Linked DNA regions of Homo sapiens: regions 2, 3, 4, 5, 6 and 7 are each linked to region 1. Evidence: promoter capture Hi-C in 16 types of primary human blood cells and fetal thymus (Javierre and others, 2016). All regions are on one chromosome and are shown on one strand. The core of a region is centred on a gene start or on the middle of the fragment in contact, and the rest is flanking DNA. Distances in the headings are between cores, read along the strand shown.

The links. The method cuts DNA at HindIII sites, captures the fragments that hold promoters and counts their contacts. A CHiCAGO score of 5 or more calls a contact.
Region 2: a fragment that was not itself captured here is called in contact with the fragment with the promoter of THEM5 in region 1 in 2 of 17 cell types (M1 macrophages and M0 macrophages); the score reaches 5.4 in M1 macrophages.
Region 3: a contact is called between a fragment that was not itself captured here and the fragment with the promoter of THEM5 in region 1, in 2 of 17 cell types (endothelial precursors and M2 macrophages). The highest score is 5.7, in endothelial precursors.
Region 4: a contact is called between a fragment that was not itself captured here and the fragment with the promoter of THEM5 in region 1, in 5 of 17 cell types (M2 macrophages, erythroblasts, M1 macrophages and 2 more). The highest score is 7.7, in M2 macrophages.
Region 5: a contact is called between a fragment that was not itself captured here and the fragment with the promoter of THEM5 in region 1, in 14 of 17 cell types (M2 macrophages, M0 macrophages, M1 macrophages and 11 more). The highest score is 10.8, in M2 macrophages.
Region 6: a contact is called between a fragment that was not itself captured here and the fragment with the promoter of THEM5 in region 1, in 14 of 17 cell types (M2 macrophages, M0 macrophages, M1 macrophages and 11 more). The highest score is 16.3, in M2 macrophages.
Region 7: a contact is called between a fragment that was not itself captured here and the fragment with the promoter of THEM5 in region 1, in 4 of 17 cell types (M0 macrophages, M2 macrophages, activated CD4 T cells and 1 more). The highest score is 6.2, in M0 macrophages.

Annotation. Positions count from the first base shown.
Region 1 is chr1:151,852,191-151,855,203 of GRCh38, forward strand. THEM5 (thioesterase superfamily member 5) reads right to left here and starts at 1,522. Exons shown (of 6, transcript NM_182578.4): 1 at 1,253-1,522; 2 at 68-269. The coding sequence starts at 1,375. The HindIII fragment of the contact is 9,012 bases long and covers 1-3,013 here.
Region 2 is chr1:151,349,764-151,352,776 of GRCh38, forward strand. No RefSeq gene overlaps it. Among named protein-coding and RNA genes, the nearest start is that of RFX5, 4.0 kb to the left of the region's middle. RefSeq lists a silencer at 1,437-1,637. The HindIII fragment of the contact is 1,999 bases long and covers 454-2,452 here.
Region 3 is chr1:151,377,234-151,380,246 of GRCh38, forward strand. No RefSeq gene overlaps it. Among named protein-coding and RNA genes, the nearest start is that of SELENBP1, 6.0 kb to the left of the region's middle. The HindIII fragment of the contact is 2,127 bases long and covers 557-2,683 here.
Region 4 is chr1:151,404,937-151,407,949 of GRCh38, forward strand. POGZ (pogo transposable element derived with ZNF domain) reads right to left here. Exons shown (of 19, transcript NM_015100.4): 16 at 2,299-2,355; 17 at 1,975-2,087; 18 at 1,671-1,695; 19 at 1-1,528. Among named protein-coding and RNA genes, the nearest start is that of PSMB4, 6.9 kb to the left of the region's middle. The HindIII fragment of the contact is 981 bases long and covers 1,166-2,146 here.
Region 5 is chr1:151,421,962-151,424,974 of GRCh38, forward strand. It overlaps POGZ (pogo transposable element derived with ZNF domain), which reads right to left. Exons shown (of 19, transcript NM_015100.4): 8 at 2,994-3,013; 9 at 1,988-2,325; 10 at 1,436-1,590. Among named protein-coding and RNA genes, the nearest start is that of PSMB4, 24 kb to the left of the region's middle. The HindIII fragment of the contact is 2,697 bases long and covers 198-2,894 here.
Region 6 is chr1:151,453,439-151,456,451 of GRCh38, forward strand. All of the region lies in intron 1 of POGZ (pogo transposable element derived with ZNF domain), which reads right to left. Among named protein-coding and RNA genes, the nearest start is that of POGZ, 4.5 kb to the right of the region's middle. The HindIII fragment of the contact is 951 bases long and covers 960-1,910 here.
Region 7 is chr1:151,471,205-151,474,217 of GRCh38, forward strand. No RefSeq gene overlaps it. Among named protein-coding and RNA genes, the nearest start is that of POGZ, 13 kb to the left of the region's middle. The HindIII fragment of the contact is 4,139 bases long and covers 1-3,013 here.

The sequences.
Region 1 (3,013 bases), core at 272-2,771:
TTGCTTCTCAGTCTTAGAACACAGGGAAGGGCGGCTGGGGTGTGTGTACTCATGGTCCTGTCCTTACCTGAGGAAACTGCCAGTCCAGATGGGAGCTTGAGTCCCCGGATGTGGTCTCTGTTGGACTTGAAGGAGGGCAGCTTGATCCAGCCGCTAGACTTAGTCTTCTCCAGAAATTCTTGGTACAGGCTCAGCATGTCCGAACACCAGCTGGCATTGGGAAGAGCATAATCCTTCAAGTCTGTCTTCTCTGGCAAGAATCTTGAGAACTGGGCAGGAAAAATCAGAATGACTAGACAGCATCCTGGAGGGGGGCTGCTGCCTGGGCTCGGGACCTCTAAACAGCTGTTCCTGGGTGCTGGGGCTTCTCAATCCCTTCTGCCAGAGTATCGATCCAAGGGAAAGGGCCCATATTCCTTGCAGGGGGGCTGCGGACCCCTATGGGTGACGGGGCATAAGGATGCTAAAGAGCAAGGGAAGGGCGGGCAGGGAGTGGGGCCAGAGATGATGGGCATGCTGCTCGATGTGGTGCCTTACCCTTGTTCTGCTTAAAACATGTGAGCAGTTCTTTAAAGTTGACAACTGCTCATATTAGCCTCACTGTACAGATGGGGAAACTGAGGGAATACGGCCAAGGTTGCCAAGCATGTGACTGTGAGAGCTGGTGGTCGCACTAGATGCTGTCTCCTCTGCAGGGCAGGGTCACAGTTGTTGAGGACCATTCTAGCAACCCCCACCTCAGGGGCTACTCCAGCTCTGCCCACTGCTGTGGGCCTGCCTGGGCAGGGTGGCTCCTTTGAAACACATTTGGGCCCCCACAGAGGTGTGGTGCCATGGCTGGGGCACAGACTATGTGCCCATCTGTGTGACGTAAGGAAGTCCTCTGTAGCGTCACCTGCTCATACACCAGTCACAACTGTAGACAGCATGTGAGCTGCTTGCCAATGCCACAGATGGGGTCCTCTGTCTGGGGATACCCCAGCTTTGCTGCAGTAGTCTGAGTCCCACAGGAGGAAAGTCATTTGTTGGTGGCCACACAAGACACAGAGCCAGATGCAGGTCTCCTGGTAGTTTTAGTTTTGAATGGGGGCAACTTGGTATCCCAGAGCACTTTCTCTTTGCCAAATCAAATAGCTCCTCCGAACACTGCCCACCTGCCCTGGCCATGGGCTGGGAAGAGGAGATTTGGGGTGCTCCTTAAGCCCTAGGCTCCTGGGAAAACACTGCCCATCTGGCTGAGCTGGGAACTCACCATGGAGTCTGTGGAGGATCCAAATGCTGAGGCAGGGTTGAGTCTGGGCAGGATACGGGGGGCCTCAAGAAGGCCTCTGTGGTGGCCAAGTCTTGCTGCCACCTGGAAGCATCTCCTTATCATGGCCAAGTGCAAGGATCCAGCCCTGCTTGGATGGAGGGTCTTGGCTGACTCCCAAGGAGTGCTTTCAGCTGCACTTGGGGCCGCTTCTCTCCCTTCTGTTGCAGGCTTTCTTTCAGAGAGCTAGGCGAGGCTGGGCTGGTGTGCTGCAACACCCACAGATGCTCGGCGCCTTTAGCTGGTCTAGGAGCCCCACCCAGTGCTTGGGGAGGGACAGATGCTGCTTGGGCATGAAAAGGCAGCAGGACTGGCTTGAGTTGCAAAAGGAGTAAACAAGTACATAAACAAATAGTATGGGGTATATAGAGCCTTGGAGAGCTGCCTGGGGGTTCTGAGGGAGAATCCAAGAATATTTCCAGAAGGATAAGGGAAGCCTGTCCCTTGATTGGAGGGTGCTGGTGGAGTGTTCTTGGTATGTGCTCTGCAGTGTATACCGGACTCTGAAAACTCTGGTATGATTTTGTGACTCAGAAAACCAACTCACAGGCCGGGTGCGGTGGCTCACGCCTGTAATCCCAGCACTTTGGGAGGCCGAGGCGGCGGATTACGAGGTTAGGAGATCGAGACCATCCTGGCTAACACGGTGAAACCCCGTCTCTACTAAAAAAAATACAAAAAATTAGCCGGGCGTGGTGGCGGGTGCCGGTAGTCCCAGCTACGCAGGGGGCTGAGGCAGGAGAATGGCGTGAACCTGGGAGGTGGAGCTTGCAGTGAGCTGAGATCTAGCCACCGCACTCCAGCCTGGGCGACTGAGCGAGACTCCGTCTCAAAAAAATAAAAATAAAAAAATAAAAAAAAAGAAAACCAACTCACAGCCTTAGACACCTCTTTTTTTTTTTTTTTTTTTTTTTTGGTGAGACGGAGTTTCAATCTTGTCGCCCAGGCTGGTGTGCAATGGCGTGATCTCGGCTCACTGCAACCTCCGCCTCCTGGGTTCAAGTGATTCTCCTGCCTCAGCCTCCTGAGTAGCTGGGATTACAGACACACACCACCACACCCAGCTAAATTTTGTATATTTTTTTTAGTAGAGATGGGGTTTTGCCATGTTAGCCAGGCTGGTCTTGAACTCCTGACCTCAGGTGACCTCCCAAAGTGCTGGGATTACAGGCGTGAGCCACCGCACCCGGCCAACACCTCTTCTTATATCCCGGACAAGGGTTAGCACAGGAGAGTTTCACCTGCTGGTCTCTGGCTGGGGATAGGAGTTGGAGGTGGGGGAGGGCTTGACAGGGAGGGCAGAAAATAATTTGGGAGGAAACAGCTTGGCAGGGATACTCTCATGTTTTGGGAACCCCGTGCCCAGGGAGTGGCTCATGTCAGCAGGCAGTGCTGGGAGTGAGGTGGGCGCGGCAGTGAGGCTTTGTTGAGTGGGAAGGGACACTCAGCCAACATCTGCAAGGCAGTGGGATTTGGTGGTGGTGTGTCTTCTATTGAATTTAAACTGCCAATTTTCAATTAAAAGTCTCAGTTTTAAATTGACTAAAATAAAAGCATGTTCTAAAGATCAGTCCTCGCGCAGTGGCTCAAGGCTGTAATCTCAGCATTTTGGGAGGCCGAGTGAGACCTTGTCTTAAAAAAAAAAAAATCAGAACTGTGCAAAGGTGGAATCATAACAGTGATGATGACGATAATAATAGTTGT
Region 2 (3,013 bases), core at 203-2,702, 500 kb before region 1:
ATAATCCCAGCACTTTGGGAGGCTGAGGTGGGCAGATCACCTGAGGTCAGTTTGAGACCAGCCTGACCAACATGGAGAAACCCCGTCTCTACTAAAAACAAAAAACAAAAAACAAAACAAAAAACAAAACAAAATTAGCCAGTCGTGGTGGTGCATGCCTGTAATCCCAGCTACTTGGCAGGCTGAGGCAGGAGAATTGCTTGAACCTGGGAGGCGGAGGTTGGGTGAGCCGAGATCATGCCATTGCACTCCAGCCTGGGCAACAAGAGCGAAACTCCATCTCTAAATAAATAAATAAATAAATAGCAAGCCAAATATGGATATAGACTGATGGAAAGATAGCCCTAACACCACTGTTTGGTATGAAGGAGAACCTAGAGCACTTTGGTTGCAAACAGAGTTTTGGGTAAGTTATCTAGCTTAAAAATTTGCAGATAACAGGGAAAAACTGGAAGCTTTAGTAAGGGGGGAGAAAGTATCATAGTACATAGTACCTAGTAAAAGAGATGATTTTGACAGCACTATAGAAGGTAGAGTTGAGTGAAAGAAAAGGCTAGAGATAGGAAAGAGGAAACTATTAATTTATGCCAGGCATTGTGTTAAGAGCTAGGGATACAAAGCTGAATAAGGTATGGTCCTTGCCTTGGGCAGTAACAATAAAAATTGTCCGGATAAGCATCATATAACAGCAAGTATTTATACAGAGCCTAATATGTGTTGGGGCCCGTTCTTTTTTTTTTCGAGACGGATTCTTGCTCTGTCACCCAGGCTGGAGAGCAGTGGCGCAATCTCGGCTCACTGCAAGCTCTGCCTCCCAGGTTCAAGTGATTCTCCTGCCTCAGCCTCACAAGTAGCTGGGACTACAGGCGCCTGCCACCACACCGGGCTAATTTTTTTGTATTTTTAATAGAAACGGGGTTTCACCATGTTAGCCAGGATGGTCTCTATCTCCTGACCTCGTGATCCGCCCGCCTCAGCCTCCCAAAGTGCTGGGATTACAGGCGTGAGCTACCGCGTGCGGCCTCAGATAGATACTATGATTATCCCCATTTTACAGGTGAGGAGACAGGCATTGAAAGGTTAATAATTTGCCCAAGATTACATCATAATTTAGTAAGCTATGGAGCCAGGATCTGCACCTAGGCTCTTTGCGTTGCAGCTTTTTTTTTTTTTCCTTTTTAGACAGAGTCTCACTCTGTCATCCAGGCTGTAGTGCAGTGGCTCCACTGCACTTGGCTCACTGCAACCTCTGCCTCCCAGGTTCAAGTGATTTTCCTACCTCAGCCTCCTGAGTAGCTGGGATTACAGGCGTGTGCCACCACACCTGGCTAATTTTTGTATTTTTAGTAGAAATGGGGTCTCACCATTTTGGCCAAGCTAGTCTTGAGCTCCTGACCTCAAATGATCCACCCACCTTGGCTTCCAAAAGTGCTGGGATTATAGGCGTGAGCCACCATGCCTGGCCTGTTGCAGCTTTTTCACTCTTGCTGTTTGGAGAGTGGGAGGGAGTGTTCCAGCATTTTCACTTCAACTGCTGGTGGACTCTGTATTCTTGTCCCACGACCAAGAAGAATAAGGTGTGTAGACACTGGAGAGTGAGTAAGGCAGTCAGATTTATTTATTTATTTACTTATTTATTTTATTATTTTTTTTGAGATGGGGGAGTCTCACTCTGTCACCTGAACTGGAGTGCAGTGGCATGATCTTGGCTCACTGCAACCTCCGCCTCCCGGGTTCAAGCGATTCTCTTGCCTCAGCCTCCCAAGTAGCTAGAACTGTAGGTGCCTGCTACCACACCCAGCCAATATTTTGCTTTTTGTTTTTTTTTTGGCGGGGGGGCGATGGAGTTTCACTCTGTTACCAAGCTGGAGTGCAGTGGCACAATCTTGGCTCACTGCAACCTCCACCTCCTGGGTACAAACAATTCTCCTGCCTCAGCCTCCCAGGTAGCTGAGATTACAGGCGCCTGCCACCATGCCCAGCTAATTTTTGTATTTTTAGTAGAGATGGTGTTTCACCATGTTGTCCAGGACGGTCTCAATCTCTTGACCTCATGATCTGCCCGTCTTGGCCTCTCAAAGTGCTGGGATTACAGGTGTGAGCCACCGAACCTGGCTAATTTTTTGTATTTTTAGTACAGACGGGGTTTCACCATGTTGGCCAGGCTGGTCTCAAACTCCTGACCAGCCAGAGTCAGATTTATTAAGCAACAGAAAAGCTCTCAGCAAAGAGGGGGCCTGAAAGAGGATTGCCAGCTATGAGGCTGAGTGGGAGGGTGAGGAGGGTGGCTTATGGACTGGGAAAGGGAGGAGTGTGCTGATCGGGCCTGCAGGCTATCTTGCAGAAAGCACCACTCAGAAAGAGGTATGATAGTGTAAAGAACCAGTTGGAGGCAGAAGTGAAGGCTTGGCTCAACAACTTGGCCTGGAACCAAGTCAGGGGCTGAAGTGAAAGCTTGGGCCAGGACCTTGGCCTGGAACCAATCAGGGGCTGAAGTGATGATTCACCCTATGTAAATGAAGACTCCCGCTGTGGCCAATCACAGAAAGGTAAGCATATGTAAAATAGATGAAAACTAAGAGACTAAGGTGTGCCAAAGAGAGTGAAATATGTCCAAAAAGGGAGTGGTATTTGTTCATCTGGGTTCCTAGAGTAGGTATTTCCATTCCAGGATGCGGGCTGTCACTTATCTGGGGCCTGCAGTTTAATTTTCAGGCTGTTCTTTGTTTGAAGGAGTTTTACCAAGGACCCACCTTAACTGCCTGCCTGACTGGTTTCTTCTTTCTCCTCTCTCATTTCATTCAGAATTTGCTCTTGGACACTATTATACATTGCCTACTAAGATTGGGAGTGAATTTTTTTTTTATTTTTTAAGACAGTGTCTTGCTTTCTCACGCAGGCTGGAGTGCAGCAGCACAAGCTCGGCTCACTGCAACCTCCACCTCCCGAGTTCAAGCAATACTCCTGCCTCAGCCTTCCGAGTAGCTGGGATTACAGGCACGTGTCACCACAC
Region 3 (3,013 bases), core at 370-2,869, 470 kb before region 1:
GGATTGCTTGAGCCAGGGAGTTCAAGACCAGCCTGAGCAACATAGGGAGACCCCGTCTCTATGAAAAAAAAATTACCTGTGGTCCCAGCTATTCAGGAGGCTGAGGTGGGAGGATCACTCAAGCCCAGGAGTTTGAGTCCAGACAGGACAACATAGCAAGACTCTCATCTCCTAAAAAAAAAAAAAGGAAAGGAAAGGAAAAAGAAGGGTCTGACTAGAACAGAAATTATGTATCTTGTTACACATTTAATGCACAAGAAGAAAAGATGAGGTGGGTTTGAAAACCAATTATGCAGACTGGAAGAGGTAGCAGCAACTTTGGTTACAAGGACACAGGTGACGCTTGCCATCACCAACACCCTCTCTCCAGCCTTTCTCCTGTGCCAAGCCTGGCTCCAGAAGAACTGAGACAAGAGCCATAAAATGGCTTTCATGCAATAATCTCCACCTTTACGAGGCCCACTTGGCTAGCACCCATTCATTTAAGAGTCCTGAGAAGAAAGAATTACATCAGTCTTGGTTAATGGCCCAAATTAAGCCATCAAACCCCTAATAAAGCTTCTATTTTGAACATGTTACAATACTTGAAATAAAATTTCCAAAGGAAAATAAAAGCCCTTCCATTTGGGGGCAGGAAGAATCTTTGGTCCCTGGGGTCATATCCCTGAGTCACAGTTTCTCTACTAAGGCTCAGGACGGGCAGAAACAAATCCCCTTCTTTGCGGAGCCCAGGCCTCCACTTTCTCACCTCAGCACCTGAATGCTGCCTGAGAAGAAGTTAGGGGATCCTTCTCCCAGTGTCCCAGAAGGACAGGAGGCCAGAGACTTTGGGAGACATGGCCTCAGGTCTACATGGAATTGGGAGGAGGCCCGGGCAGGGGCTTCACTGCCCATCCTGGATCTGCTGTCTCTTTTGCATCATATCCACCCGGCTGGTTTCCTTTACAATCTCCTCAGGGTCACGTCCATGTGCAGGAATGCTAAAAGTGCTATGTGGGATATGGGAGCCCCAGATTTCCTTTCTCACCTTTTCAAAAGGTGCTCAGAAACCAAAGTTTAAAAAGGCTTAAACTGAAAATAATAGCTGTTCCCAATATACAGTAATCTTTAACAAATCAATTGGAAAAAGATAAATTACACAAAGAAAAACATTCCAAGGATATGAAAATACAATATAAATGGCTAATAACCATAAGAAAACATACCTGGTCTCATTAGCCATTAGAGAAATGCTGGTTAAAGCAACAAAAAGATATGATTTTCAAAAATAAAAAGATTGATAATATTCAGGATCAGAAGGAGTGTGGGGAAAAGGACCACTCCTGTATTCTACTGGCAAGACTATAAAATGGTGGAACATTTTTAGAAGGAAATTTAGCAACATCTAGCAACATTTTAAATGGAAATCCACTTCTAGTGATCTACCTTATGGAAATCAATAAGTATATAAATATATAAATATAGGATGTTCATTGCAACAATGTTCTTAATAGTGAAAGGTTGGAAACAACCAATAGCAGAATGGTGAAATATATTATGGAACATCCATAGTATGAAACACCAAGCACCTTAATGTGTAGTTTTCTATATACCAACACAGAAGGATATCAATAAATACGGTGGAGGGGTGGGGGAAACCAGAAAGTATAATCTCATTTCATTTTATTTTTTATTTTTTGAGACAAGAGTCTCGCTCTGTCACCCAGGCTGGAGTGCAGTGGTGCCATCCTGGCTCACTACAACCTCCGCCTCCCGGGTTCAAACAATTCTTCTGCCTCAGCCTCCCAAGTAGCTGAGATTACAGGCATGTACCACCAAGCCAGGCTAATTTTTTTGTATTTTTAGTAGAGATGGGGTTTCGCCATGTTGGCCAGGCTGGTCTTGATCTGCCTGCCTCAGCCTCTCAAAGTACTGGGATTACAGGTGTGAGCCACTGTGCCCAGCCTCATTTTAATTAAAACTACATAAAAATTAAGCTATATAGTTTTAACTAGTTAAATTTATATTTATTTATTTATTCATCCATCTATACGTTCATAGAAAAGGATTTGGCTTATGATTGATGTCAGTATTTTGGGAGGCTGAGGCAGGCAGATTGCTTGAGCCCAGGGGTTTGTGACCAGCCTGGGCAACATAATGAGACACCGTCTCTACAAAAAATTAAAACAATTTAGGCCTGGCAGGCTCCTGTAGTCCTAGCTACTTCGGGGGTGGGGAAGGTGTGCTGAGGTGGGAAGATTGTTTAAGCCCTGGAGGTCGAGGCTGCAGTGAGCTGTGATTGCACCACTGCACTCTGGTCTGGGTGGCAGAGTGAGACGCTGTCTCAAAAAAAAAAAAAAGTAGGCCGGGCGTGGTGGCTCACTCCTGTAATTCCAGGACTTGGGGAGGCCGAGGCGGGCGGATCACGAGGTCAGGAGATCGAGACCATCCTGGCTAACACAGCGAAACCCCATCTCTACTAAAAATACAAAAAAAAAAAAAAAAAAAAAAATTAGCCGGGCATGGTGGCAGGCGCCTGTAGTCCCAGCTACTTGGGAATCTGAGGCAGGAGAATGGCATGAACCCGGGAGGTGGAGGTTGCAGTGAGCTGAGATCGTGCCACTGCACTCCACCCTGGGCGACAGAGCAAGACTCCGCTTAAAAAAAAAAAAAAAAACCTAAAGAAAAGGATTTGTAGAGATAAAGCTTCCCTTATCATGCCAAATGTAGCTAACAGTGGTTACCTCAAGAATTGGATTACAGGGAGCAATTTTTATTTTTCACATTATGTATCAATCATATTTTTAAAATTTTATATTAAGTTTGAAATACATGTGTAAACAATTGAAACAGTGAAAGAATACAGTAACATTTTTGCCTATAAGATGGGCAAAAAATTTAAAGGTTAAAATCTTGTATTGGTGAGACTATGCGGCAAAGGGACCACTCATTTAGGACTAATGAGAGTGTCAATTGGTGCCTTACTAACAAAAACAATTTGTCAATACCTCACAAAAGTTAAACTGTGCATACT
Region 4 (3,013 bases), core at 406-2,905, 450 kb before region 1:
AGACTCAGAATGTTCCCCACTCAGCTTCAGTTGCTCCTCTAGGGAGGCAATTAGCTCCTCCTGCATGTCAGCATTTCTTGTAGGTGAGTTAATGTTGCCATCGGGGCCAGGCAGAACACTAGCCACCAGGAAGGAGCGCTGAACTAGCTCTGGACAGTCCCCAATGACACCTAGCACTTCACCCAGCCAGACAAGCACCAGCTGAAGCAGGACATCAGAATCACATGCAGTATCTGCCATTTCCCGAGCCTGTTCCTTCCATTTTTTATGCAGGAAGTTCTTGACAGTTCTTTTGATGCATACATCTAATGGCTGAATTTTGGAGCTACAGCCTGCTGGGACCACTGCAGGCAAAGTGCTAGAGGCACTAAGCATAGCCAGTACCTCTTCTGACAAGTGAGTGCGATGACAGTCCATCACAAGCATGCCTTTGCTGCGCTGGCAAGCTGTGTGCTTCTGCCACACTCGAGTTGACCACAGCTCCATGATCTCGTCATCACTGTAGCCACTCTCCTTTGCCTCTAGCAATATGGAGTCTGGCATGTTAGCAGGCTGATCCATCTGCCCTCTGTAGAAAACCAGGGTGGGAAGGACAGTGCCATCTGCCAGAATGGCTAGGACTACATCACACCAAGGTTCCCCTGTGCCCACTGTCTGCAGGGCATTCTCCTTTCGATCATCACTGCTCAGCACCTCTGTATCCAGGAACAAAGAGATCTCATCAATAGCCACAATCATAGACAAGGGTAAGTCCTGGTTGTGAATCTGCCGTTGTACAAAATCAATGAAGAGTCCTGCATTCTCTGCTACATCCTTAGGTAGGGTGTGGGCCACAGCTCGCCGGGCATGGGGAGTCAGGTGGTGCCGCAGCATGAAACGCACAGCCCACTCATAGGAGATCTTAAACCCCCCTTCCAAAGAACGTCCTATTTTGGTGGCCTTCTGGAACAAGGTCTCCTCATTTACAGGTAGCTGTTGTTCGCGCTGGGTTAGCACCCACTCAGCCAGTTTCTCTTCTGCCTCAAAGCTCAGATATTTGCCCTCTAGATTCTCCCCCTGGGAGGCCTGGAAACGTCGAAGCCAACGGCGAATACGTCGCTGGGGATTTCGGAAGTGTTCAGCTGCCTGTTCTGTATTGCAGCATAGAGCAAACAGTACTACTCGAAGCTTCTTCACAGACAGCTGCTCCTTTTTGCCAACTCCACCACTACCACCACCACCTGATGCTAGCTCAGGTTCTTGGGTGACTGGGCTCCCTTCATCCTGATCATCAACATTCAGACATTCGGCTCCCTCTGTAGCCAGCGGTGGAAGGGCTAAAGCCTGCGGGTGAGTGGGGGTTGGTGGTGGGGTTGCAGTTGAGGCTGGTGATGGGAGTGCTGGGGCTAAGGGAGTTAGTAGCTCTTCAGGCTCAGCTGGGGTGGCCCCCGCAGATTTCACAGTGGCAGCTTTGTTAGTGGGGAAGGAAGGAGGAGGGTACATATTCTTCACGTTCCGGTCATGCACTCGGTCACGAGTCTGGCCATGCCTAAAGGGGTGAGGAGCAAAGAGAAGAGGAGAAATCTCAGTTCAACTAGGAAATTGAAACAATAATATGATAATAATAATAATAATAACAGAGTAAACACACTGCAAACCAGAAATTAAATTGTGAGGTGAGTTTTTGTTACCTTGAGTGAGCTATCCAAGTGAGTCCTATGGAAAATGAAACAACAAAAATAGTTAGCTCAGTGAAAAAATAAGCCCTCCAAAGACAGTGCCCTGGGATTCAACTTACTACATACAAATACGCTGTTCGCAGTGACCAGCTTTCCCAGTTTTATATAAACTTCAGGTCGGAAGGTTTCTAATTAGGTCCAGCACATCTCAACAGTGAATGAGTGAGGCCAAGTAGGTATGCTCCTGATGCATACAGTACGAACCTGTATCTTTTTTCCTCCCCTTGCTCAACTAATCCCCTTCTCTCCTACTTACCCCGTGGCAGGATGCTGCTGGATCTGTGAGAGGGGTTGAATACCAAATGCTTGGCCATAGCATCGCCCACAGAGGTAACAAAGGTACATGAAGTGCAGGCCAGCTTGATTCCACTAAAAAAGAGAATTGAGACTATGTAAGACAAACACAGCAGTGACACTTGAGACCATTAAGCTTTGAGGCTTAAGAAAGAAAAGGAATGCCCTCCCACTTTCTCCTTTTTCTGAAATTAATTCACATAACCACCTCTCCAAATAATGAAAAACCTGAAAATTAATGTAAAAACCTGAAAAATTAAGATGCTGCCAATAAGTTTTTTCTTACCTCACAGAATTTTTAAACAAAGCCAAATACTTGGGGCTCTTCCGTGGAACATGATTGCTGAGAAAGACAAAGAAGTGGTATGAGTTACGGAGTTCTGCTGGCTAAGCTAGAGATCACCAGCCAGTGACAATGCCCCCAACAAAAGAGACACTTCTTCAGTGCACCCTAATCTCAACCTAAGCCAGTTTTCCTGTCACCATGCTTCTTAAACTTTAATATGCATACAAGTCACTGAGGATCTATTAAAATTCACATTCTGGTTCAGTAGGCCTAGGGCGGGGCTGAGAGTCAGCATTTCTAACAAGCTCCCACCTAATACTACTGGTACTTGAATAGCAAGGCCCTATGAAATTAGAGCACAGACCATCAAAACCGAAAAAACAGAGCCTCTCACTCTGCTAGGAGAGAAGAACAAATAGCTCTAAGAGTTGAAGGAGGAAACATATTAGAAGCAGGGGAGAAAATGAAATGAGTGCTCAAGAATCTGGCTGGGGCCGGGCGCAGTGGCTCATGTCTGTAATCCCAGCACTTTAGGGAGGCCGAGGCAGGTGGATCACCTGAGCTCAGGAGTTTGAGACCAGCCTGGCCAACAAGGTGAAACCCCGTCTCTACTAAAAATACAAAAAAATCAGCCAGGCATGGTGGTGCACACCTATAATCCCAGCTACTTGGGAGGCTGAGACAGGAGAATCACTTGAACCCAGGAGGCAGAGGT
Region 5 (3,013 bases), core at 296-2,795, 430 kb before region 1:
AGACTGGTCTCCCCTGGCCTCAACTGATCCACCCACCTAAGCCTCCCAAAGTGCTGGGATTACAGGTGTGAGCCACCACACCCAGTCCTTATTGTTTAATTCATTTTTAGTTAAGGATTTTTACTTGTAGCAAATGCATCCAGATAATATGCATATGTCTTCTATGCTTTTGATCATGCTGTTTTCAATCACCTAAAAGCTTTTCTTACTACTCTCCATCCATCTAAACCTTTCTTAAATTTAAGCACGACTTTCTTGGAAACCTAGCCACAAGGATTTTTTCCCTTCTCTGAAGTATTTCACCTATCAATGATATCTTAAAATGTCTATGTTTATAATATACTATCTTGTTCTCACATTTTCCTATATTTACATAATTTTTGTCTTTACAACAAAACTGGAAATCCCGTAAAGGACATGAGAAGTATTCTCAATACTGGGCTTAAATCCTCACTATGTATCCCCAGTAGAGGTGTATTTAGAGGTGTACGCTCATAAGCAAATGACTCAATTTCTTTGAGCTTATGTTCAGCCTACATCTATCTATAAAATGTACAGTGTAGAAAAACATTCCAGCTTACCTTATATTTCACTGAAAGCACTGTCTTAATGATAAAGTACTTCATAATATTATCTTTTTTTTTTTGGAGATGGAGTTTTGCTCTTGTTGCCCAGACTGGAGTGCAATGGCATGATCTCAGCTCACTGCAACCTCCGCCTCCCGGGTTCAAGCGATTCTCCTGTCTCAGCCTCCCGAGTAGCTGGGATTACAGGTGCCCGCCACCACACCCAGCTAATTTTTGCATTTTTAGTAGAGATGGGGCTTCGCCATGTTGGCCGGGCTGGTCTCGAATTCCTGACTTCAGGTGATCTGCCTGCTTCGGCCTCCCAAAGTGTTGGGATTACAGGCGTGAGCCACCGTGCCCGGCCATATTATCTTTTATCCTACTTAATTTCTTTGAGCTTATGTCCAGCCTACATGTATAAAATATACAGTGTAGAAAACACTCCAGCTCATCTTATATTTCATTGAAAGCAATGTCTTAATGATAAAGTACTTCACAATATTATCTTTTAGCCTACATAAAACCTATCAGGGTTTAACTAAAGTGGAAGAGCAAATAGATGACTGTTCCTTCTATAAAGAGACCTAAGAAATAAATTAATTACATTTGTTTTTCTACAGTGGTTCTGAATCAACGCCCCTAACAATTCAGGATCTAACACTGAACTCAATCCATGCTTGAACAAAATAAAAGTCAGGCTTGTAAAAAAAAACAAGGTGAATGAAGTAAAGAACTGGCTACAAATATGAAAAGTACTTCCTCTACACTGTTACCCACATGTAAATAAATATAATGGGCTCCCCCCAGCGCCATTCAATGAGTGAACAGCAAGGTATATTCCCCTTGAGTTTAAGAGTTTCCAAACTTACTAGTAGATTCATAGGGACTATGAACATTTTCCAAGTGGCACTGAAGCTGGAAGGGAGTGGAAAACTGGCGGTAACAGTGCTGGCAGATAGTGTGACCATCTACCTCACCGTTCTGCTGATCGAGTTCTACGTGGTGTTTCATATGGTTCATGAATCTGTAATAAAGCACAAAGAGAAAGTACAGAAAACATAAAAAATTGGTAGCCTTTTAGAAATATAATGGTAAAATCACAGAACAAACATTATCTGCTCCCCTCCATTCCCCAGACTTCCTGTTTGGGATATCCTTTTCTGAGCCCAGAAAGATAATGAGTTCTTGAAACTAAGAGAGTTCTGGGAAAGGAGACATACTGCTTTCCCTTACTCGATCCAGTTACCTTTTGTTTATTACCACAATATCTCCTTCTATAGTCCTAGTTATTGATTTAATGATAACCCCAGCAAGACTGCATAGTAGTTAGGTCCATTCTCCAAAGAGAAAGACTTAAAATATATAAGAAAATGTAAGTCTTCTCTTGTTCAAGGTAACTTCCAAGGCTCTTAAACACTTACCGAATATTGTTTTTTAGCCTTTTGGTACAATGTGGGCATCGGAAAGATGTGGCGACCTTAGGGAAATTTGTGAGCTGGGCTACTTTGCCACCATCCCGTCCATAGTAGAAGTCATCTACAAGCATAATGAGTTTGGTCTGGACGGCATCGCCCACGTTCTCATTTGGTTCTGGTACTTTGGTAGGCGGTGACAGAGCAGGAATAGGTGTAGAAGAGGGTGTGGAAGCAACAGGAGCTGTTTTCTCAGGGGATGGGGGCTTTGCTGCTGATGGGACACTGGGTTCTGAATCCAGGGACTTTCCTTTCTTCTGGTATTCAACCATTTCTGGGCAACAGTACTATAAAGAAAGACATCTGATCATTCTGGTTATCCTGGGGGCTAGAATGTGCTAACTCCTTAACTTCACTACCATTCCTTGTTAACGGTTTGGTTTCAGGTATTCTCATTCAGCTTTCACCCTTCAGTTTTTTTTAGCGTTTCCAAGTTTTACTCCTTTTCTAGAGTATATCCACATATGCCACCCAAGCGCTATACTTTGTATTTCTCCCTCCTGCCTGTCTTAGGTCCCTTAATCATTAGTATAACTTGGCTCTGAGCTCCCTGGCAAAGAAGAAGTTCCAACCTTTTTATCTGGACTAATACCAAAAAATGAAAAGCTAAAAAATGGAAGTAAGAGCTCCCGATTCATCCAATGACACAATTAACAAAAATGAACTGAGGCCAATATGGTTTGAGTCCTTATTATCTATAAACCTGTTCTCCTGTGTGGTTTCAAAATCTACCACACTAAGAAAGTAAGATCACATATGTTCTGATCTATTTGAGGGTCTTTAAATGTATCCCATCACATTCCAAAGTACACAGCTCTTCTAAAAACAGACCAAGAGAAACAGTAACCCTTTAAAAAGCTTCAGTCATTTTAGAGCCCCTGCTTACAAGCTTCCAATATTAATGAAGGTAAATGGCAGAAGCCACTTAAGCTGGATCACAGGTGATATCACTTACACACATGTGACCTCTCAAAG
Region 6 (3,013 bases), core at 185-2,684, 400 kb before region 1:
TTTTTTTATTTTTATGCATCCATTTTCACTTAATATACATTTCTTAAGACATAGCAAAATAGTTAAATAAGAAATAACAAATTAAGGTGGATTATGTAGGCTACCAAGGAGGTACATTACTTTCTTCCATTAATCCATTATTTGACATCTTGGTAACCTAGGTGGTTTCTCTATTTTGTAGTAATTGTAACATGATTTTTTTGTGCACTCAATAGGTTTTACTTAACACTGCAGGCTCACACAGAACTATTAGCAATACTCAGTCTCTTGTCTCATCCTTCAATCCATAATATGGGAGTACCAGATAAATACTCTCCTGGAGGGAAGGGGACTATTTCTTAAATGCTGGCGAATATGGTAGTCTATACTAAGGCCCTATATGATCAGCTAGTCAATAAAAGTCTATATAATTGTAAAGGCAAGATAAAAACAGACCTTTTAAAACAATATACTATTTAAAAGCAGCAAAAAGAATCCTGCAGATACACCTGTATACTTTTAAGGTATTTAATGGGCAGCAAATGTTGCCTATCTTCATCTCAAAGAAAATGAGAAAAAGATCTGTTTTCCACAACTATCCTGACATACTTGGTTCTTGAAAGCTCTGAATTCCTTTGTCTTGTTCTTTCATAGCTGTAAAGTCCAGAAATGAAGAATGAAGAATTCAGAAATGAAGAATTTGGTATCTAACGTTTTCAACTTACTGCCAGTACATACCTGCCCAAAAATCAACATAAAAAGAACATTTGGAACAGGAAAAATATTTTACAGAAAACAAACATTTTAAGAATACCACTTTCTTGTTCCAGGGTGAAAAATAAACAATGATAATCCTCAACATAACTGGTAATTATGTTTTCAAGTTACCTCAATTTTTGGCTCTAAAAAGGACTAATACCAGAAAACCTATAGGGCTGAATACTTAATCTGTGTATAAAACTATAGTTAAACATGTAATAAGCTTTTATTTATCCAGTCTTTTGCACAGCCCATTTTGTCCCTCACAACATCTGTTATAGTACCTCATATGTAAGAATCATAAGGGTTTTAAGTAGTCTTAATAACCTAAAATTTCCAAACTCAAAATACTTTCCTCTTGTCTGGTAGCCAATCCTGTATCAAGAAACACCCAAATATTTAGTTCTGTGCTCTTTACTAAAACAAGTAAGCAACAAGTTCTCTTCTTTAAAGGGGTTCAATATTCAGGAGTCCCTTTCCCAAGAAAAATATCTATACTATGATGGAAAACTTTTCTTCAATGACAGCTGTGTGTTGCCTAAATTCCATTTCTATGCTTTCAATTTCTTTTAACTCTGCTAACACCTAGCAATAGGTTAGTGTCTCTTTTCTGCTCTCCTCCCCTTGGTTACATATAAAAATACGTTTTTCAGTTGGGCGTGGTGGCTCACGCCTGTAATCCCAGCACTTTGGGAGGCCAAGGCGGGTCGATCAAGAGGTCAGGAGTTTGAGACCAGCCTGATCAATATGGTGAAACCCCATCTCTAGAAAAATACAAAAATTACCCAGGTGTGGTGGCGCGTGCCTGTAATCCCAGCTACTGAGGAAGCTGAAGGAGGAGAATCGCTTGAACCCAGGAGGCGGAGGGTGCAGTGAGCCGAGATTGCGCCATTACGCTCCAGCCTGGGCAATAGAGCGAGACTCCATCTCAAAAAAAAAAAAAAGACAAGTTTTTGTGAATATGGCTTAATATCACAAACAAGAATACCAAAGAATCTATCAAAATGTTACCATATTGATATTATGGCAAAGGCATTAACCAGCTCTAGGATTTGTAATCAACCAGCTCTAAAGTTTTTATTTTACAGATAAGGTCAAAACAGTGGTTTAGAGAGACGAAGTAACTTCCTCAAGGTTACAGTTAGTAAATATCCCAGTTAGGATTCAAAGCAAGCTTTTTTTGCTTTAGAATTCTTCCCCAGGTCACTGCCTCTTCCATCAACTTCAACTATTTATAAATTCTCCCAAGTTCCCCAAGGGAGTTAGATTTGAATGATGTAAAGAGCAGAAACATAGGACTGACTGAATGATTCTCATTTTTTTGACTCTTAAAATTATTGAAGACGCCAAAGATCTTTTGTTTATGTGAATTTTATCTTTCCACATTTACCACAAATTTTTAAAATGTAGTATTTATCAATGTATTTTAAGACAAGCCCATTATAAGTTAACATAAATAACATTTCAACAAAAAATACTTTCCCTCCAAAAAGTGAGAAAAGTAACGTTGTTTTGCATTTTGCAAATCTCTTTTATGTCTAACTTGATAAAAGATGGTTGGATTCTCACAGTTACTTCTGCATTCAGTCTGTTGCTATATGTAGCTTTGGTTAAGTATATAATGAAAATCTAGTCGGAAAAGGGAGAAGTATTTTAATAACCTTTTCAGATAACTGTGTTTGGTAAATACTAAAACTCAACAAACGGTAGTTTCTTTCTTTTTTTTTTTTTTTTTTTTTTTTAATAAATAGAGACAGGGTCTCACTATGCTGACCAGGCTCAACTCCAACTCCTGGGCTCACACAATCCTTCCACCTTGGCCTCCCAAAGTGCTGGGATTACAGGAGTGAGCCACCACGCTAGGCCAAATAGTAGTTTCTTAAAGGACAGTTAACATTTTGGAATCTGAAACCACATCAATCCACTTTTTTACTGTTAAAATCCATTGCTATGTCTGGAATTTTCAAAGGATCTTTTGCCTTTGCTTGATTTTGCAACATCATGCATTGGTCATTTGCAAAGCCTAGATTTACTGAGTTATGCCCATCTTCCAAATAACATATTTCATTAAACAACATTTTAAAATATTGCAGTCCTTAACCACTGATATCATAAGGAAAGTCTTTTAAGTACTAGGAAGCTGTCAAACTCCAGCTGTCAACTTTTTAAAAATTCTAATTTTCACCCAAATTTTATCACTGGTAATAAATACTGTCAGTTGTTTTCCTAAAAGTGACAAGCTCACTTCATTTTCAAGAAATATCTGCCAAATACT
Region 7 (3,013 bases), core at 168-2,667, 380 kb before region 1:
AGAGACCCCATCTGTATTAAACCCCTTTTGCCATGTTGGCCAGGCTGGTCTTGAACTCCTGACCTCAAGTGATCCACCTGCCTCGGCCTCCCAAAGTGCTGGGATTACTGGCATGAGCCACCGCACCGGGCCCAATTTGGGCGTTTTAATCCAAACGTTAAGCTACTGAAAGTGGCCAGATTGGAGTGTGTGTAATGGGGGGAAGAAATGGGTGTAAAGATAGAAAGTTTCAGTCACAAACTTGTTAGCATGACAGAGAGCTCCCCTACTTGAGAAGGGACAAAGTCAATTCAAGACCTTTGGGCTTTCTGGCTGGATGCGGTGGCTCATGCCTATAATCTCAACACTTTGGGAGGCCAAGGCAGGTGGATCACCTGAGATCAGGAGTTCGAGAACAGCTTGACCAAAATGGTGAAACCCCGTCTCTACTGAAAATACAAAAATTAGCCGGGCGTGGTGGTGTGCGCCTGTAAATCCAGCTACTAAGGAGTCTGAGACAGGAGGATTGCTTGAACCCAGGACGCAGAGGTTGCAGTGAGCTGAGATTGCGCCACTGCACTCCAGCCTGGGCAACAGAGCAAGACTCCATCTCAAAACAAACAAACAAACAAACAAAGACCTTCAGGCTTTCATATAACCTATATGGGTGGATGAAATTTTAGAAATAAATAATAAGGGGAAAAAAGATAAATAAAAATTCAAATTTTAAAATAAAGTAAAATAGATCCATGGGGGTATCTGATGACATGATATTCCAGCAACTCAGATTTCTCTGGGACTCCACTGGAGACAGATCTTTCAGGCACATTTGTAATATGTCCACTGCCCAGGGGACAGGATAGAAGAGCCATAGAAAAAAAGGGAACTTGGCAGAATTGCCTTTGTATAACTTTCTTTCAGTAAAGAAAGTTATAGCTTTCTTTACTGAAATAATAGCTTTAAAGAGACAAATTATTCACAAATCATTAGTAGGAAATGTTGAGATGAGATGATAAGCAAGAAAGGTAATTAAAGTCTGTACTATTCTTAAAATGAAATACTGTCTAAGTATAGAGGAATAAATTAGATGACTTTTCAACCTTTCCAATCTAAGCATCCTTAAAAAGTTCCACTGTCTAGCACAGTGGTTTTTAAACATTTTTTGACAGCCACCCACAGTAAAAAGCATATTCTACATCTTGACTGGCTACACACAAACACACAGTACTTTTCATGATTCAGATTGTATGAAAGACTACTGATATTCACTATGTGATAGCTTTCTATTCTCTTTTATTACACCTCTTTTTTTTTTTTTTTTTTTTTTGAGACAGTGTCTTGCTCCGTTGCCCAAGCTGGAGTGCAGTGGCTTATAAAACATGGCTCACTGCAGCCTTGAACTCCTGGGCTCATGCAATCCTCCTGCCTCAGCCTCTGGAGTAGCTGGGACCACAGAAGTGCACCACCACACCCGGCTAGTTTTATTTTTATTTGTAGAGATGGGATCTCCCTATGTTGCCCAGTCTGGTCTCCAACCTGGGGCCTCAAGTGTTCCCCCTGCCTCGGCCTCCCAAAGTGCAGGGATTACAGCTTGGGCCACTGTGCCCAGCCCTTTCTTCCATCATTCCGTCCTCTCCTTCCTTCTTAATACTGCTTGTCAAACTGATTTTGCCACCCAGTTTGAAAAAGAAGGTCTAGAGGATTATCCCAATCATTAACTATTTCTGCAGGTTAGCTTACCTTTCCAGAATACAGAATAGAATTCAGCAAACTGCCTCAAAGAGCAGTTTCTAGATTTGACTTCTTCCTCTAGGGTTTATGAAGTCATCATACTGAAGTGACCTGGATTTCCCTATACGTGAACCTCATGACGTGGGAGCCCGGGGTAGGGAGGGACAGATAACATGAGAATCAATAGAAAGAACTGCAAGGTCTGAAGACAAGAACCATTTGTCTAGTGGAGTCTATTTTATATCCATTTTTTAAAAATCTCCATTTAAGATATTTAGCTTCAACGTGCACCTTGACCAATTAATCCAACAAACAAAACTCTGGCTTGGGGGCCCAGTTACTCACTTTCATGGAAAGAGACCTCTGTTTTTAGAACCAGGGATCTTGTGAGTCCCTCCCACGTCCCCAGCCCTTCTCTGGCCTCGGGTAACTTTTCCCTCCAGTTTGGTGGAAGGTTACATTAGAAGAAAATAGTCCCTACCGTCTAGAAAGTTTTCGGGGGGGGAAAAAAGGGCGTTGGACGTGCGGGTGGGTGGGTATACCGGGAGGGGACAGCTGGAGCCGCGAAGGCGCGGGGGCCCGCGGCGCGTGGGTGTGGAGGCCGCGGGGCGGCAGGAGGCACTGGGAAGCGGGGTGAAGAGCACCGAAGTCCAGAAAAGGGCAGTGTCCGCCCTGCGCTCCTCTGCTGGCGCCCGCAACCCGGGAGGGAGCGGCGAGGCTCCGAAGGGTGGGATTCGAGGTCTGAACCCTCGAGTGGGCTTGGGTTTTCAGGAGCCGCCTTTTCTTATTGATCATTTCTCTTTTGTCATCATAATCTCTTGGCCTCAGACTGAGTTAAGGGAGCCATAGTAGGAGTGCAGAAAATGAAGTGGAGGAAAAAAAAATGTGATATTTAAAATATAGTTTTTCCTACTTTCTTTTTCTCTCTCAAATTAATTTAGATGTAAATAACATTTTAACAGGGCCCAACATCAGGCTCCTAGGCTCTGGCTGCTGGTCTCACTTGACACCAGAATAAGATTTTGGTGTGCTAGTAATTTTGCCAAATGGAGGCCTACTCCCCAAAACATCACCGTGGTGCATGATGAACATTTCTGTAGGTGATGACGTGGAGTTTTTGTTTTACTTCATTCTAATACATGTCCCTGCTTCAAGTGGGTAAAATTATACCTAGCTCAGCCCAGGTTTAATTCAGATTATTTAAAAAATTTCAGTGGCAAGTAATTTACGAGCTTCTCTTTATTAAGATTTAGGAAATTTTGCTTTATTGCGCATGCATTTTAAGTATTTTTTTGCTGTGTTC